Regions from separate parts of the Homo sapiens genome. Here region 1 is linked to region 2. The links are contacts of gene promoters, found by promoter capture Hi-C in blood cells and fetal thymus (Javierre and others, 2016). All regions are on one chromosome and are shown on one strand. Each heading gives the region's core, a stretch centred on a gene start or on the middle of the fragment in contact. The rest is flanking DNA. Distances are from core to core; before and after follow the strand shown. Region 1 overlaps LOC105372201 (a long non-coding RNA gene). Region 2 holds the start of TSHZ1 (teashirt zinc finger homeobox 1).

Region 1 (6,143 bases), core at 1,670-4,169, 270 kb before region 2:
TCTTACTTGAAGGAGATGGGTAGAGCTCCCTCATAACCCTACAAATACAACATTTTCAATGTTTCTGCCGATGGCCTGATGAAACAATAGGACCTCAATAGTTAACGCGCTTGTTTTGTCCCTTCAGGACAGTAGCTTTAGTTATAGAAATGTCCTCTGCTGTATTTTTTCCCAAAAAATATGCATTCAAAAAGGCCTGTGAAATGTATGTTAAATAAATCTTTTTCACTATGTTGAAAGTTTAAGCGATTTAATAAAAATAGAATCCAACATTTTACGACTTGAACAAGACTTCAAATGCAGCATTACTAAACTCCATTCTTCCCGTGACGGCATCACCTGGCAGTTCAGCGTGAGACAGGCTTGCCTCCTACATAGCTCCAGAGCAACTGTGTGGGAGGTGAGCCTGGCCCTGTAACCTGGTAAGGCCACAAAAGCTTAATTAATTTTCAGAAAACAAAGTTACTTGTATGGCCTAATTAGCCTACATTTCTTAAACAAACCCAACACAAAGCTAGGTGATATCATTTTATGCAAACAAACAATAACACCTGATCACTCCCCACACTTAGATGCCACCATTATTATAGTTGTTCAACCTTTTTTAACTCTCCATTGCTTGGAATAATAATAACCTGTTAGAACTTTGAAATGAAAATCTTTCCACTTGACAAATGCTGATGTTTTTAAGCATTTCAAAAGCCAGTGTCAAACAGGCTTGCTTTTGATTTTCATCTTGGTCTGTGCATGAGCATTAGAGAAATTAACAAGAGCGAAAGGCCTGAGATTAGCCCCTCCTCCATAATTCCCTAACGTCAATCAGTAGGGGGAGCTCTCCTATTATTTAAGTGTCCACAAACAAAGCACAGAAGCATTTTTATTGACTCTCCTGGGGACAATGGTGAGGTTTTTCTTTAAATGGATGTTATAACCTGAAGAACATTAAGACAATGATTTGTTCAAAGTTAGAGATGTACCTCATTCAGCACTGACAACATATTTTCTAAAACAGCCTTGCAAATTAACGAGGGTGTAAGAGTTGCAGGCCTGTAGAAAATTATCCCATTCCAAGAAGGAATCAAGTACCTGTCACTTATAGTGGAATAAAACTTAATTGCATCAGAATTCTAATGGCCATAATGGGCTTCATCATCTCTTTAATATGACAGAATATATGGAAAGGTTATAAAAAGGGAAAAATTGACTAACAGATTTTTAGACTTTGAGAAAGGTGGCTTTAAGCTATAAATTATAATGTGAAAGGCACAAAATGAAAAGAGCATCAGAAAGTATTAGACTCTTTGAGATTTTGTAGTTAAATTAAATAAAATGTCATGGTAAGGAAATGAATGGTATAACCCGTAAGCTTTTCATGTAGTTTGCTAAAATAACACTTCCACAATTAGAGATTTGCATGATTCTTTTTATTATTATTTTCTGTAAAGATTGGGTCTCCCTATGTTGCCCAGGCTGGTCTCAAACTCCTGGCCTCAAGCGATCCTCCTGCCTTGACCTCCCAAAGTGTTGGGATTACAAGTGTGAGCCACTGCACCTAGACTGCATGATTCTTTATTGGAGCTTTTGAGTGAAAGTAATGAAGTCCCTATACATGTACACAGTATATATCACAATATGGTAAACTGAAGACCAGAAAATACACAGTGAAGTTATCAATAGGCAACAACAGCAAGAATTGTGTATCCCTCTATGAGTACATCATATTGCTAAGTGTGACAGAAACTGTCAATGTCCCCAAGTTGCTCCCACTCTCTCTTGATAATACAGTTACCAATTTTAGTCTGGGTATATGAGTTCTCATGGGAAAAACTACAATCCCCATCCTTCCTTGCAGCCAGTAGAAGCAAGGTGACTGCATTCTGGCCAATGGGGTAAGAACAGATGGACTGTGCAGAGTTGCAGTGCACAAGAGAAAGAGGAACATGCTTTTACCAACTCCATTTCCCCTTCCCACTGGCTAGAATGTGGATATGATGGTGAGTCATCTGGGGCTATGTGGAGAGGACAACAGGTCAGGAGAGTGAGGCAAAAAGGTAGGAAGAGCTTGAGCCCGTCATAACTTTGCAAAGCAGAACCACCAAACCAGATTTTACTTTGCTGTGAGAGAGGACTGTCTCCAGGTTATTCAGACTAGTCTCCATTTGTCTCTGTGTCTCCACAGTTTAACTAGTATCCTATACTGATAATATTATAAGAAACATAAAATAATACCTGAAATCTTATTTCTTTCTGTTGTGGAATTACCTAGGAGTTTAGAAAGTGAGCCCAGCATTGGGCTAGCATCAAACATTTATAATGAGACTTATTGACTAGTGATTCAGTGTTTGCATTTGGGAGATGGATAGATAATAGATAGAAAGATAGATAGATAGATAGATAGACAGACAGACAGACGTATATTTCCCCTATGAACAGGCAGTAGAGGAGGATGGGGAAGAGGAGGAAGAAGAAGGAGGACAAGGAGGAGAATGGGGTGGGAGAGGAGGAAAGAAAGGACCATCTCAGTTCTTGGCTGGAATTGTCCCAGTTACATCCGTGGTGTGATGTTGTTAACTTGCCTTTTTTAACTCTCAAAAGTATCCTGACTTGAACAATAACTTACATGGCCATTCTGCCTCTTGGTGTCCTTTCAATAATCCCAAACTACCTCATATAGCTGGAGCTTGATATTCAAAGTGTATAATCCACTGTAGAATGTGGGCATGGTGTGAACAGGACCTCTATATAAGAAATGCCAGTACAGATACTAAAACTAAAAGAATGCAAAATGCAAAAGTCTAAGAAAAAGATCACTGCAGGTGAAACAATGAAAAGTATTTGGTTTTATCAAACCAAATTTAGAAGAGAAAATTGTGGTAGGAATGGTTTCCATAAGCTGGAAGAAGAAGAGAAAAATAATACAGAGAAAGCAGCCCAAGAAGACAGGAAGAACCTGGTCAAGGGAAGAGACGCTGAGGACCGTAAGGGAGATCTTGGCAGCAAGGATCAGCAGAAGCGATCTTTAGCATGAGTGCTTTGCTTCTATGTTATACATGTTTTCATAGAACTGGGTAATAAAGGTGTAACAGGTGTTCAGAAAACACACCGCTCCTACCCACGGCCCTTCAGTGGCACACCCACATCACTCAAGCCTCACATAGGACAGTGCAGAAGCATTAGAAGAGCATGAAGTGGTGAGAGTTAGCCTTTCAGAGACATTTATCAATGGGTTTCTTTTTTCTTAAAGAAAAGAGATACATCCTGAGGCTAACAATACTTCTGTTTATTTCTTATAAGTTCACAAAATGGCAGGGCTTCCAATGAAAATTAATATTTGCTTAGTGGATCCATGATTAGCCTATTTCATCAGACCCCAATTATGCCCGTGTGTTACCCCTGAGCTCTCCTTGCCCGTGCCTGTCCCCAGCAGGATGAAGGAGACACACACAGGGCAGCTGCATTCCTGTGTCTGTGATTAAGGGGGTGAAGAAGGAAAAAAGTTAGAGGTGAGAAAGTGCTTCAAACCCAAACATAGTGTACACATCTACAAATTTTCACAAAATGTTAACAGACACAGCAAATCACTTACTAAGATGTTCTTTAGCCTCAAGTGTCAGGATAATTTTACAGTTTTAAGTCTGTACTTTAAGTAGTCAGTACTGTTAGAATTTTCTTTAAAATCCACGAATATCAATGTGTTTACATAGTTGGGTATTATCTTCACAGATTTAATGGAGAATATAAAATTTATAAATTTTAACAGAAATGCACAGAAGATGAAATTTATTCATGGTAGTGGTTTTCTTTTTGTTTTTGTCTTTCATGTTTTTTATTTTTTATTTTTTTGTTTGTTTTGCTTTTTGTTTGTTTGTTTGTTTTTGTTTATAACATCTGCTTGTTTAACTTCTGGAAGCACCAGAAAGCTAGACAAGGCCGGGGTGGAGTCCAGGGAAAGGAAAGATGTCTATTTTGAATAATTTGTACAAGCTAGAAATGGTTCCAAAGGATCACAACGAAGTGGTTTCCTAATGAGAAACATTTTCCTTCACACAGATTGGGCTCAGAGGATGGGATCAACTCACACGCCATAGTTGCATGTGAATACACAACCATAGTTTTCATTGTGATTTAAAGTAGTAACCGAAAAGACTAGTGTGTTTGCTAGACAGGATAGAAGTGAGTGGGAAGCGTGTAGCTTATAATGTCGGGGAAAAATAAACTGACTTAATAGCTGAAGTCTGCAGAACAGAGGCCACAATGTTAAGGCAGGTGAAAATGTTAAGGGATGCTAATTTTTGCTATTGGTAAAGGACTCAAAGTTTTAAGGACTCCATTCCCAAGAGGAAATGCACATTCAATGACAACTTGGATAGTGGCGTGTGACTCCTCAGCCCAATATTATAACATGTCAAGTATTTTCCAAAAGCCACCCACTCTGCTCTATAAACAGATGAATCCTGGCTGAAGAAAGCTTCACTAACTTTGAAGATTTGAAAGGCATACAAATCTTAGGGAAACAAATCGTGACCAATAAAAGTTGAAGAGCATCTGTAAGACAGTATTACAAAGCTGGCTGACTTCCATGACTGGAGAATGGTATTAGGAAAGTGACTCAGCAAGATTCTTTAAGAAAAAAAAAGCTGAGTTATTGGGTTAAAACATCATTGGTTCATTTTGAGGCATTACAGATATTTGGAAAATAAGACCAAAGTCTTATCATCATGATAAAGCAGGCTGGTGAAGAAATCGCAGAACTGGTTACCAGTTTAATCAACTTAGTAGTTTCCTCTCACCCTGTTTTTTTTTTTTTAAGAGTGATCAATAAAAACATTAATTTTCAGGAAGCAATAAACACAGAGCTATGTGGTAGGAAGAATAAGAGCAGACATAATTTTTTTGTCTTAGACACATAGAGTAAGACGTCATCATAGGTATAAATTTCTTATATGATGTTCACATAATTACGTCTTATTTCAAAGGCATTAGGACTCCATCCTAGAAATTAAACAGAAAAATGACACATCCAGTTGACCCCATCCAGGGGGCCTCTACATCTTTAACAGTTCCGTGATCTGGTAGCCAAGTCTCTCCTAAGGAGAGGTTGAATGCAATCGCGTTCATGGGTCAAGCATAGTGTCTGTGTGGCCCACGTTCTCCATGAACCTGTGGGGCCACTCTTGTTGTTGAGTTGCTGCTGCTGTTATGGTTATGATCATTACATGTCCTTTACAAAGAGTTCTGGGATAAGGATGTCTATATAAAGGTGTCTATATTGATTATTTTATTCATCTAACATCATGTATTTTATTATTAATGTTAAAATGTAAGTAAATCTCAACTAATTCATTCATTTTTCTTCACTTATCCTATTACTAAGCACATTTGTCAACAATTCATAGAAAAATACACAGTGGTGGGTTTTTATAATGTTTTAAAATAACTGCCCACACATTTGGTCCCACTGTTTTATGATGCAATTCTTGGTCCTCTAATGAGCTTGCCAGTTGGCTCCTAAGCCTTCCAGGCCAGCATTCCCTAACACTGAGAAGCATCTCAGAAGTGCCTCGATTCAGAGGTAGACATAAAGCTGGCTGAGTAGAGTGCTTGTGATTGAACGTGTTTTGTTATTGTTTACATTAATAAAATATAAATAAAGTGCCAAACTCAGAATTTGCCCCTCAAAGTGAGATGCCATGTGCTTATGGTCTTCTGGGGAAGAAATGAGGTGGCTGGTTTTTCATGGCTTGACTATTCCCACGGAGCAGGCATCATTCTTCTCTTGCAACTGCAATATTTTTTTTCTATTTTCCTTCAATTCTCACAAGATCTTCTCTCATTAATGTCTAAACCAGGAAAAGTTTTAACAGTTAATTTTTTCACTTAACCAAAATGTATCTTAATTTCTTGTAGAGTTTTTAAAATTTAGCTTTGAAGTGTAATAAAATTAAATAGATTTGTTTTAGAATTTTCCAAAAATGAAGTTTTGGGAGAAGATGGAAAATATGGAAATATTTTTCCTAAGAATTCATTTACTTTCATTTATTTTTCTTTTCTTTTCTTTGTTTTTAGAAAACATTGAGAGAGAAATAAAGTTTCACAATTCCATCATGCCAGAAACATCTATTAAATTGAATAGGAGTGAAAAT
Region 2 (6,252 bases), core at 3,741-6,240:
CAGTGGCACCACTAAGACAAATTGTTTATCCAGACACTACATGTTTTCACAGAATATTTCCTGTTCATCTTATTTATAAAAGCAGTTTACCTCTGAAATCTACTTACTCATCCAATCAACATCATTTAATATTTTGCAATGATATTGCAGTTGGAAGTTCATCATTTAGCCTTCCTGGGAGGAAAAGGTGCCATTTTAGGATCAAGCATTTTCCCTCCTCTGTTCAACTGAGAGCTACAACTGGGGTGTTGAATCTAAACATCCATTTCTACAGCTTGACAAAATTTGAGATATCCACCGTTTAAGCTTTTTCTCAATATCAGTTTTCTTTGTGTGTGTGTGCCAGGGTGGAATTTCAGGCCTACCAGGGCCTGAGATGTTCACCATCTTGAGAGAGGCACACTCCTGTGATTTCACAGGTATAATTCTTACCCAGACACAGACTTGCCCTGCCCTAGTCCACATATTTACAGATGGCATGAGAATCACTGGAGACGGCCCGGTGTGCTCCCAGCCAGCGACATTCTCTGGTACAGATCTATTCTGCATACACCTGAAAAGACTGATTTTTAATAACTTTTTATTTCAGGCCTGTCCCTCCCTTTCACTTAAAACAGCATGTCTAAGTCACAGCAACTATAACCATGAGGGTCTTCAGCATTGAAGAAATAAAAATACATAACAGCTGAGTGGTTGGTTTTCTGTCTTGGCTTGATTGCACAGTTCAAAGCCAGGATTACGGAGGTCATTAAGCAGCATTGTCTCGGTGACATGATTAGTCAGGTAGCAAAGTCCATTTGTCACCTGCACCAGCAAATTGAGTTAATACTGCACTACAGGCTATGGGGACTGTATAATATCAACGTGATTACATCAAGCGGGATGCAAACTTGACAGCTCACTGAATTTGTCCGCATTAATCGTTACGCCTGTCACAAATCCATCAGGTTTACAGATAATTAGGGGCCTGTTAATGAAGCTGGCTAAACAACCTTACCTTTTTTGATAATTAAGAAGCCGCTTCATTACGAAGGGACCATTTCCTCTGAGCAGTATTTCTTTATTTTTTTTACATAAGGAGGATTCATTTGGATAATTTTCCCTTCCTCTCTCATCACTGTGAAGTATTGCTATTCTACATCTGTCATCCACCAACTTCCTGGCTACCAAACAATCAATTATTTGACACTAAGATACTCTCAAGAAAAACTCATCAGTTACGGATGGAACAGTGAGGCAGGCCAACATGCAGCTTTAAGAAAAAAACAGTCAGGATGTTATAATAAAAACACTTTGGAAAATCGCTTGACTCACATATGTATATCATTGCCCTCTTTCTTTTCCAGAAAATGAACAAATAATATTTGCTACCAATGCATTGTGGCTACTTTAAGAGGGAATCTGACTGGCTTCTGCAGAGATTATAAACATCGACGGCTCCTTATTAAACGCTTAAGATGAAGGAAATCAGGATTTTCTCACCTAGCCCATTACAAATATAGGAAGGACTTATGCCAATGTAAATATTAGTGAAAATAAGCAAGTGTGAACCAACGTGTGTTAATGGAAGTAATTCCAGATGAAAGCAAACAGCCTTATTTTGCTAGGAATCCACGTTAATGCTTTTTATGAGTGAGGGGGGAAGAGCTAAACAATGGCTCATCTAATGAACACAAGAATCCCACAGGTTTGGAATCAAAGTAGAGATAATAAACCCTGTAATTAAACTTACACAGAACCTTCTAGTATGGAATCTATTTTTGAAATCTCACTTCAAAACACAGGACACTTGGAACATGTGCTGTCTCAATTTCCTCTCAACTAAAATATATTTTGGCTCCATTTTTTAGGGTTTTTTCCCTCTCAAGTTCCTGTACAGCAGATGACTCAGTCATCAACTCTTCATAGCCATCACTTTGCAGCATTTTGATTAAGTATGCCAAATGTCGTGTAGAGGAAAGAATGGAAACACTAAGCCTGCCAACTTTTGATTGACCATTAAAGCCAATGATATATGTGCCTGTCAAAAGACAGACAATTAAATCAATATTGGAAAAAAGTCGCCTTGACGGCTTGTTTTTATGTAAGAGCTGCCAGGATGGATTACCATGCACCATCATGCCCTTGTCAACTTTCAAACCTTTTATTTAAAAAAAAAAAAAATGTGGTATTTAAAGTTGCAGTACCTCATTCCCTCAGCATTTTGTTTGTCCTTGGAAATATTCACCGCAATTTTAACTGCAAAAGTTCTTAAGAGTACAGGAGTAGTTTTCTGAACACAACTTTTTATTGTACATTCTGTCATTTAAAAAAAAATCCCTCTAACTGTGAAAATGTAAAGACCTCTTGTTTCTAGCATGAGCAAGTGGCGAATATCTTGAGACACTGAGCTATATTATTTGGGGGCTACCAGTGGCATAGATACTCTCTTTGAAAGGTTTCTTCCTCCATTACTCAAAGTTATTCCAAAATAAATATTCTCCATTCTGTTCCTTTTATGTTGTGAATACTCAGCATAAGGTAATCTCCTTCAACTCTTTGAGAGCATCTCTATCAGTGATCTAATGGAAATGATGAGGTTATTTTACTGAACCATTCATAAACGTAGATACTATTCCCAAATTTTTTTAGTAGCAGTAATCTCTGCTTTAAGTGCTTCCCCAGAAAAAGCACGTATAAAGACTTGAACACGTGCACATTACTGAATGTGATACTCAAACTTATTCAGATTCTATTCTGTACTGCAACAGCTAAAGAGTCGCTCATGTTTAAACATAAAACACTCCTTCTAATATTTTTACCCTAAGAGCTTGGAGAGAGTTGATTTACTCTATTATTTAGCGATAACTCACTGGCATATGGGTTGCATTCTCAGCCCCACAAACGCAATGTCCAAAACTGAGACAAGACTTGAGCAGGCAGCAGAATCACTGGGCTATTTTCAAACCTGTGCTCAAAAACGCACGGCAGCTGACCCACCCCAGGTTTAGCAATGGATTAGTAGGTGAGCTGAGTTAAGGGATGCTGCAGCTGTAAAACTTCTGAGACAAAATTAAAATGGAGCAGCAAAAGGGGGAGCGAGAGAGAAAAGTTGCCCTGATAGTGGCGGAGCTGTCAGGAGCATGTGTGTTTCCATGGTGAGTGATTTATTGATGTTTATCAGGAATGAATAGATCAAAGGCTGCCAGATGACAGGCGATCAATCACACATCAAATCAAGGATGGCAATCCTCTAATAAAACAGAAAACAAGGAAAACCAGCTCCTGCCAGTTCCTCCTCCAGAGAAAAATAACTTTTCTGTTCAATCAGAGTCTGCACTATCACTGCCTTGTGCTGGCCTGATCAAAAGACATCTTTAGAGGTAATAAAAAAAAAGTGGGGGCGGGGGGCCTCTTGCACAGGACATTAAAGGCTGCTGTTTTCCAGAGAAATCTTCTGAACACATTCTTTGCGTCCCAGCCTGGTGACCTTGTTTTCAAGTGTCAGGTTCAGCCTCCCCGCCTTTGGAGGACTTTTCCAGTGCGCTCCGGCAGCCAAGGAGCAACTACTTCCCCTCAGCGCACGCCCCCTCCTGAGGTAGCCAGAAGCACCCGCCGTCCCGCGGCCCCCGGCCTCCCCCGGCCATCCGGGCTTCCCGCAGCGCAGAGAAGCACCGCGAACTTTCTCTGCTCCACGCGCCGGCCCAGGTTGGGGGTGTGGGGGAGGACGGCGACCGCAGCCTCCAGACGACTGTGGCCAGCGCAGGCTGGGCCTCCCCTCCCCAGCTTGGGGCGGCCCGCGGCCCACGTCCCGCACCTCGGCCCGCGAAGCCCCCTCCTCCTGCTCCTCCCGGCGCCCACTCCCCGCGGCGCGGGCCGCGCGCCCGTTACCTGCCGAGCGCCGGGGGGCCTGCTGCTTCCTCCTCGGCATGCTGCTCGGCCGCCGCAGCCGTCGCCTCAGCCGCCGCCGGAGTTCGCGGGGCGCGGGGACGCGGGGCCCCGGGCGCGGGCGCAACTCCGCGGCGCGCCCAACTTTGGCCTCGTCCCCGCGGGCTCCGGGCTCCGGGCGCGCCGCGGACCGCGGGGAGCCGCTCGCATGGACCGCCGCGCCCGGGGCCGCTCAGGAGGCGGCGGCGGCGGCCGCGCGGCCCGCTTCCCGGCGCCGGGCTGCGGGCGGAGCGCGCGGGGCCTGGGCGCCGAGCCCGGAGTCATCCCCGGCGCGGGCCGCGGGCGCAGCAGCGGGCGCTCGGCGGGCCGGCCCGCGGCCCGCGCTCCATGCTGCCGCCTCCCCGCCGCCGCGCTGCTGCTGGGCGGGCGCTCCTCCCGGCGCGCCGCTCCGGGCGCTCCCCTGCGCCTTCTTCCGCGAGCCGAGAGTCGCCGAGCGCAACTTTCTCTCCCCCTCTCTCCTCGCTGTTTGGGGGTCGCGGCGAGTGTTTTTAGTGCGCGGGTCGCAGCTTTCTCATTGTGCGCCAGCGAGGCCGATGCAGGCTGTCCTTTTCCTCCCCGCACTTAGTCTAAGAGGAAGAAAGCAAACAAGACAGAGGAGTGAAGCCCCCGTACATACATGCGCCGGGGGGAGATGTCAGGCGCTGCTCCACCTTCCAAACAGTCACAGATCAAACAGTGTCACCCCGCCGGAGCGCCACTTGGTGCCCCGCGCTTCCACCCGGGGGGCTTGGCCGCCAGGATCGCCGCTTCTTCCAATGCGAAATCTAATGCAAACACATTTTGATCATGGATTTTTGGCCGGTCTTGATCTTCCAACAGAAAAAAATTTGAAAAATACACAAAAAGCACCCCCCCCTCCAAGAAAAAAAAAAGGCAACAACAACCCGGAGAGTGTGTGCAAAGGGGGTGAAGAGCAGACATTCACTGGGTGGGCGAGATGAGCGTGGACTGTCCCCCCCCCCCTCAAACTCCTGGGAGAGAGGGAGATGCACTCTCGCTCTCTCCTCTTTTCAGTGAAATATAACACACATTCGGATCGCAGAGCTTTCAGACAGTCTCAACTGATAGACAGACACATCGAGCTGCTTTTCCTGCTTCAGTTTTTACTCCTCCTCCTCTCGCCAACGTCACCCTGACAATTACAAATAGGTCTCTCACAAACCATACCTGTCAATCTTTTTAATTGCTTTGTTTTCTTTTTTTCGGAGCTAAACAATATGACAAAAAAAAGAAATCTTAATACAGCATAACATAAAAGATTGTACATTGGAGGAATTCATTCAGTGTTGTTATTGTAACCCACTGGCTGATACCGGGTAAAACCCATATGCTCTAAGTTAAGTAGACATTAGTTCCTGCAGATTTTTAAACCTGTTAGTTCCCCCCCAACACACACACATACACATACACACACTTGCACATTCATACACACGCAACCACGTGCATCCAAACTACCCTTGGGTGAAGCATGTCCTACATTTGGGGGGAAAAATATCTGTGTCGCTTTTGCAATCTCAGGTTGGGGGGTTAGATTTGGCTGGGGAGGAGCCCAGAGTAGCTTTTATATTTTGGTAATTCGTGGGTAACTGAAAAGCAAGATATTTTTAAAATTAAATTTTACAATTTAAATAAAAATGTAAAGATGGACTTAGTTCATCACAGAAAAGTGTGGAAATATTTAATTTGGCCCCTCTATAAAAAGTGAATTGACATTTGGTCCATGCACGCCAGTAGGGAGAAAACGGACACGATGGAACGACAGATCTTTCTAGCTGGGTTCGAAAATGAGGTCCTCACACAGCAGTGCAACGTCTCCAATTCAGTTAAGTCCCTCGGCATCCCCACGTAGAACTTTAAAATGTGTCTGTGCTCTGGGAATTTGGCCTTCTGGTTTTCTATATGTGTGTTCTCTCCCAATGGGAAACCTGTAACAGTCTTGTAGATCTACTTAAAACATTCATGGAAAAACATGAAATCTAGGCCAAAATAAATAAAATGGCTTAGTTCCTGCAACTTGCATGGGACAGACCGTGGACAGAAAGCACGCGCAAGGGGTTCCGGGGACAGGAAGCCACCAGCCTGGGGAGCGGGAGGCACTGGACATTTCCCCGCCCCGCGGTCGGTACGGGTGCGCGTGCGGCAGCGGCGGCAGGGGCTCCCCGCCCTGCCCGGGGTCCCCGGTCGTGCCCCGCCGCCCGGGCCGCGCTCGGGGTTGATTCGTACCACCTTGCAAGGAAGTGAACGCTTCGCACGGGAAGGGGAGGCGCCTGCGCCGGCCGCCGCGCAGCTCCGGGGACGCCCGGGGCTGCCGCCGGCTCGGGGCCG

Evidence for each region. The method cuts DNA at HindIII sites, captures the fragments that hold promoters and counts their contacts. A CHiCAGO score of 5 or more calls a contact.
Region 1: a contact is called between a fragment that was not itself captured here and the fragment with the promoter of TSHZ1 in region 2, in 2 of 17 cell types (endothelial precursors and M2 macrophages). The highest score is 6.6, in endothelial precursors.

The regions. Positions count from the first base shown.
Region 1 is chr18:75,473,885-75,480,027 of GRCh38, reverse strand. It overlaps LOC105372201 (a long non-coding RNA gene), which reads right to left. Exons shown (of 3, transcript XR_935637.3): 3 at 1,482-5,840. Among named protein-coding and RNA genes, the nearest start is that of SMIM21, 49 kb to the right of the region's middle. The HindIII fragment of the contact is 3,102 bases long and covers 1,369-4,470 here.
Region 2 is chr18:75,209,535-75,215,786 of GRCh38, reverse strand. It overlaps TSHZ1 (teashirt zinc finger homeobox 1), which reads right to left and starts at 4,990. Exons shown (of 2, transcript NM_001308210.2): 1 at 3,871-4,990. The coding sequence starts at 3,910. RefSeq lists silencers at 3,677-3,996, 5,934-6,252 and enhancers at 4,879-5,173, 6,213-6,252. The HindIII fragment of the contact is 17,256 bases long and covers 309-6,252 here.